2 separate regions of the Homo sapiens genome follow, and region 2 is linked to region 1. The links are contacts of gene promoters, found by promoter capture Hi-C in blood cells and fetal thymus (Javierre and others, 2016). All regions are on one chromosome and are shown on one strand. Each heading gives the region's core, a stretch centred on a gene start or on the middle of the fragment in contact. The rest is flanking DNA. Distances are from core to core; before and after follow the strand shown.

What was found. The method cuts DNA at HindIII sites, captures the fragments that hold promoters and counts their contacts. A CHiCAGO score of 5 or more calls a contact.
Region 2: a fragment that was not itself captured here is called in contact with the fragment with the promoter of SERP2 in region 1 in 6 of 17 cell types (naive CD4 T cells, naive B cells, total CD8 T cells and 3 more); the score reaches 8.2 in naive CD4 T cells.

Annotation. Positions count from the first base shown.
Region 1 is chr13:44,372,530-44,375,399 of GRCh38, forward strand. It overlaps SERP2 (stress associated endoplasmic reticulum protein family member 2), which reads left to right and starts at 1,295. Exons shown (of 3, transcript NM_001010897.3): 1 at 1,295-1,580. The coding sequence starts at 1,497. LOC105370297 (a long non-coding RNA gene) reads right to left here and starts at 1,037. Exons shown (of 2, transcript XR_001749858.3): 1 at 868-1,037; 2 at 1-668. The HindIII fragment of the contact is 1,852 bases long and covers 551-2,402 here.
Region 2 is chr13:44,108,836-44,111,739 of GRCh38, forward strand. All of the region lies in intron 2 of LINC00390 (long intergenic non-protein coding RNA 390), which reads right to left. SMIM2-AS1 (SMIM2 antisense RNA 1) reads left to right here and starts at 1,714. Exons shown (of 5, transcript NR_104065.1): 1 at 1,714-1,777. The HindIII fragment of the contact is 1,666 bases long and covers 736-2,401 here.

The DNA.
Region 1 (2,870 bases), core at 45-2,544:
TGAAGCCTGAGTGACAAGAAGCCTGTAGCGGGGTGAGGGGGACCCGCTTGGAAAAAGGCCCCAAAAGAGGAGCTCTTCCTAACTCTCCAATGACATGGGAAAATTTTACTCACACAAAATTCCCTGGAAACCCAGCCACCTCCCGCTCCAAGAGAAGGCCTAGAGATGCAGTGGCCAGAGACAGCCTCAGGCCTTCTTCCCCATGCTGGGGGTGCTGCTGCTTGCCTTCACCCCGACCCGGTATCCCCACTTCCCGCTGCCCCAGATCTCCCAGGCTGAATGTCCCCTCTTCGCCTCCACTCTTCTGAGCTTCTAAGAGCTAACTCCAAGTGAGGAACTGAACCCCTTCCACCCCTACCTCCCCAGGCAATCTGTAGAGCTCTTGAGCCCTAATACCAGTGTCTGGGAGGCGCGTAAACGCTTCCATTTTTATCCTTCCACTGCAGAAAATGCCCAGTTTAGTCTGGGAGACACTCAGACCCCTCGGGACAAGGGTGGCTAGAGAGAGGTCCAAGCTGCCCTGGGTGGGTGGGGAGTCAAGGCAGGCCAAAGCTTCAGATTTAGACAGTAACCACCAAATCCGACCTGGGCTGCAGGTCCAAGGCCTCTTCCTCTTTCCTGCATGCTCCGCTCTGCCGCTGGCCCATCTTCCAATGCAACCCCTACAACTACCAAAGCAAAAAGGCCTGTCCCAACTCCATCCTCACGGCCCGATCCCCAACCCTCAGGGGATGCCGCTTCGTGTCTCCTCTTTATTTTACAACGCGGCCCTCCTTGCAGCCCTCACGAAAAGTTCTGCAGTGGGGTCCCCCAGCGTGGGGCCCTTCTCGAGACCCTTAAAGAGAAGGCTCGTTTGGTGGACCATACCCGGGCAGCGCGGGCCCGGGCCTGGACTGGTTCTACTTGTGTTCTGAGGTCCCTGACCACCGCCTTGGGTCCAGCCCTCGTCCAGGGGGCGGCGGTGCAGGGGAGACCGCGCGGCCCGGCCTGAAGCGCGGCCGCCCTCATCCCTTCCCCGGGGCTGGGGTGGGTCACCGGCCGACAAACACAGGAGGGGCCGCGTCCCCGTCCCCGACGCGCTCACAAACGCCGTGGTCGCCCGAACCTTCGGCCCCGCAGCATTCGGCTACAGGACCGCGACACTGCAGGGCCCCGGCTCTGCGCGCTGCGCTCCGGCCGCTCGGCGCGGGAGGACGTGCGGTCGCGCCTGCCTCGGTGGCCGCGCGGGGTAGGTGGCTGCGGGGACCGGAAGGATGGCGAGGAAGTCGGAAAGGGTTTCCTGAGATGAGAGATTACTTCCGTCCGGGCTGCGGCCTCTCTCTGGAGTCGGCTAGCCGGGGCTCGGGGAGCGGGGTGCGCAGGGCTCGGGGCCACGCCTTGCCACCTGCAGCGCCCGGGTGGGCCGCGGGGGCCTCGGCGGGACGCGCTCGGCCCTGTCGCAGGAGCTAACGCAGGGGGAATCCTTGCAGGTGGGAGCATTTCAGAGCGCACAAGCCATGGTGGCCAAACAGCGGATCCGGATGGCTAACGAGAAGCACAGCAAAAACATCACCCAGAGGGGGAACGTAGCCAAAACCCTGGTAAGGCGGGGTCGGCGCCGGCCAGGCAGAGCCCTGCAGCCCGGCGGGGTGGGGCGGAAGGTGGGGGCGGGGCCGGGCGGGTAGCGGCGCAGGGTCCGGCCTCCCGGCTCCCGGCCCGCCCCTTCTGCGGGGTCCTGCAGAGTGGGGGCTGAGAGCTGGGTTCAGGGCGGCGCGGTCTGCTTGGCGTCCTCGTGGGCGGAGAGGGCCCTGGTTGGTCGTGGCCCCTCTGGGAGTGGCTACCTGGGCTACCAGGGAGGCGCAGAGGAGCCCTCCTCCCCGACCCGCACCCCCTGTCCCCCTGCCCGGGAGACAGCTGGGCCTTGTCCCGGAGAAAGACGGAAAGCCTCATCCTTAGGGGCCAGTTAAGTCAACTGCATGACACAGAGCCTGGAACCTAGTATGTTCTAGAACGTTGCATGACACAGAGCCTGGAACCTAGTATGTTCTAGAACGTTTGTTGAATGAATGAATGAATCAATGGCTAAATGGAGGCCACTTGTCATCTCCTCCCGGACTCCACCTGTCTTCCCTCCCCAACAGACTTGCACCAGGATCAAGTTTTCTTTCCAGCCCCTTTGTGACGGTTTCACTGGAGGTGTGGAAAGAGCTCAAAATGGGGAGTGAGATTTGGACCCACATTCCCTCCAGCCTCTTTTTTCTCTTTTACCTCTCTTCCAGCGAGACCTCCCTCAGCCCCTAGGCTAAAGTCTAAGGGCAGCATTCCTATTCTTTCCACTTGGTGAATTCAGACTCATTCTCATGGTATAACTTTAGAGACCAGTTTATTGTCAGGCATTCGGTGTCCCTAGAACTGTAAATTCAAGCTTTGCAACTGGACTTTTAAGTAAAACCTGTGCCTTACACTCAGGAGTTTCTTTTAGCAAAGCAGATTATCATCAACAGAAAATGCGAGGCCTGTGACTTTGGACATTCAGAGGCATGAGTCGCATGGGTAGTTTGGCGAAGTTGGTCTCCAAGTATATGAGCAAAGGCGCCTGGGATCTGTTACCCCGTACAGTTAAGTGGAAATCCAGCTGAAGCCTGGAGTTTGGCTGGGAAAGCTTGCAGATTTGATGAATCAATTCCTTTTAGCCAAAGAAACTATATTGGTTTGATTAACTAAGCAAAAAGCTAGATCTGTAATCATCACACCAGAATTCTTGCAAAACCAAGCAGTATTACGGCAGAGAAACTCTAGGACCAAACTCAACTCTACTCAGAGCTTTATACACAAGTCTAAGCATAACTCAACTCTACTCAGAGCTTTATACACAAGACCTAAGTAATCCT
Region 2 (2,904 bases), core at 319-2,818, 260 kb before region 1:
AGTGTCTGAGGTGGCAATGGGTCAGGCAGAGCAGTGCAGGTCATTGACCTCAGTAGAAAACCCCCAAGCTGCACTTTAGATACCAGGTCCCTTCTTTTTCCAAACTAAAAACGTCCTGGGTGTTGGTAGCAGAAGGGCCGACTATAGGTTAATGTTGCTACTTATCCTGATTTGTGGGGCAGGGAGGGCTAGCTTTAGTTTTAAGCCAAATGTTTAAATGTTTCTCAAATCTATCTACCTCTTTACCTCCAAACCACCCAAGTCTGGGCCAGAATCATTAAAAGATGGTGCACTTGTGCCGACTTGACAGCCACAGCCTCCCACCAGGATCCCCACATTCTCTCCTGCCTCACAGAGCAGCCAAGATGATCCAGCCTCACCTCAGGTCAGACCATTTCACTCCCAGTGTGAAACCCTTCCGTGATTCCTTGATACTTTTGGGATCAAGCCTGACCCTTTGATGTGGTCTCCAAGCCTAGGTCAGCCTGACCATCATCCTCTTACCGCCTGACATTGCTGCAGGTGGGTGGAAGGCCTCGGCTCCTCTCAACTCCAAGCTTCTTTTCCTTTTAGGTATTGGAACCACATTCTTCCACCCACCTGGGGCACTTTCTCAAGCAAAACTCTCAGCCGCCTTCAATTTTGAGCTTAAACTTTACTTCTTTTCTTCCTCCCCCTAGAGTTCCTCACACATGAGCCCCTTGAACTCTGAGTTTGGGATCCTAAAACTTCTTAAGCTTTATTGTTACCCCTTACCTAACCAGAATCTAAGTTCCATGAAGGAGGGACCTCATCCATACTCCCCATGCCAGTGAATACATTTCGAGTAAACCCCAAAAGTATTTGCCAATGATAAGGTAAAAGCAGTGGGTTTCACAAAGGACAATACCATTTGCAGAAGAAGCACCACATAGCAATAAAAACCCAAATGGTTATCCAGATTATGTAAGGGCCACAATCATGGGCAAGGTCCCTATCATGTGTAAGAGACAATGTGAGTTATTTTGTCTATATGAAATATGCCTTTTGTTTGGTAGTTGTCATTTTTTCAAAGAACTTTTTGCTAGGCTATCGAAAAGGTGAACGACTCAGGAGAATGGGCATTATAGTTGACGGTTATTTAGCAACTACAGTGTGCCAGGTCCAACAACCTTATGAAGTAGGTGCAATTATTACTGCCATTTGGTGAATAAGGAAACTGAGATGCCTAGGAAATTAAGTAATTTGCCCAGTGCTATACAGCTGATCGGTTGAAATCGTATCTGAAGCCAGGCACTGCCATTCCCAGGCAGGCACCCATTGTACTGTCTCCCTGTGGAACTGCAGATCACCTTCCAATATTGAGGGTCTTCCACATTTGCCGGAAAATACCATGGGCTGAAGATGTGCAACAGGCTTTACCTCCCTCTCTCAAGAGGTGGAGCTGGTTCATGCCTCAGAACATAAAAGGGTGGGGTTTGATTTCTCATCTTTGTGAATTATTTCTGAAGAGTTTATTGTATAATCAGTGACTAAGTAATTGTGGCCACGAGGAGATACAAAGATGTTTCATTATGGATGGTGTAATATTTAACTTCACGGAAAGGACCCGGGGCTCTGTGGCTTCCCATCCGTCTTGTGACCCGGAATCATGGTGATCTAAAAGAGCCCTGTGACTCTGGGAAATTTGTTATCAAAGGATGTTAGCCACAAGTCCTGTTGGCAAATGGACCCCAGGTGGCCTGCAGTGCCAAGCTGTTTCCCTGCCAGCCTCCCAGTCTGGCCCTGACTCTCCAATGTAAGTGAGGGGCACAATGGAAATGTTATTTTAGGCCTTTCCACTTTAATTGCATTTCCTACAAGAGCGTCTGCGGGTTTTTCTTCATTTTGCTGGTGCCTCCCATATGAGTGGAGATCCACTGAGCAAGGTCATTGACCTACTAATTGTTAAAGGCATGTAGAAGCTCGGAGGGCTCGGTTCTCAACAATATCCTAATTATTATGCATTGGTTAGATGTTCTCTTCCCCATACTGTGTTATTGGGTTCATACTGGCTTCTAGTAGTAAAATCACTTGCTCTCTCTCTTAGCATGGTGACAATTCTGTTGTGATTAACTCTTTCCCAACTTCTTGAACCTGAGAAATATATTATTCTATTACAAGGAGTTCAAAAATCGTATATATATTTTTCTCTTTTATAACACACTTCTATGAAGTATCAGACATTTCATTTGCACTTTCTCATCTAACCTTCGCAACATCCTTATGCATACTTATTATTATTGTGTCCACTTTATAGAGGGGAATATTGAACAGAGGATTTGTTTGTTTTGTTTTATTTTGTTTTTAAGTGACTGACCTATCAAATGTCACACAACTAGTAATTAGCAGACTGGGTTATAAACTCAGGCAACTGGCTTCAAGCTTAACTACTTCATGCTTAACTACTGTACTGTGCTATTCTACTTTACTTCCTTGTATTGTTTTTAACTTGAGAGATTTTTATCCATTATAGTTGAATCCATGACTCTTGTTTGCTTGTTTATAAAAAACATATGGTCCTGAGTAATTAGGATGTATTTCCCAGCATCGTTCAGTTTCCATGACACTTACTCTTCCAACCCCAACACACACACAACTGTGCACAACATACAGTTGAATGCAAACATATAAATGTTGGTGCATTTTCCTTTTTGTGATATAAAATTGTCCTCTTTCTTATACACAATCACCTGACCAATTTTTTCAAGATGATCTAGAACCTATTATTTGTAAGCCACTTTGGAAATTAGGGGGACTTTTCTGAGACAGAAATAGCATCACCAATAAATATGGAATTCCAGGGAAGGTACACATAGGGTCTTAACCCTGGATGGACAGCGCTGATCTCTTCAAACCTTTTTGGAACTGATTTCACTTCACCTT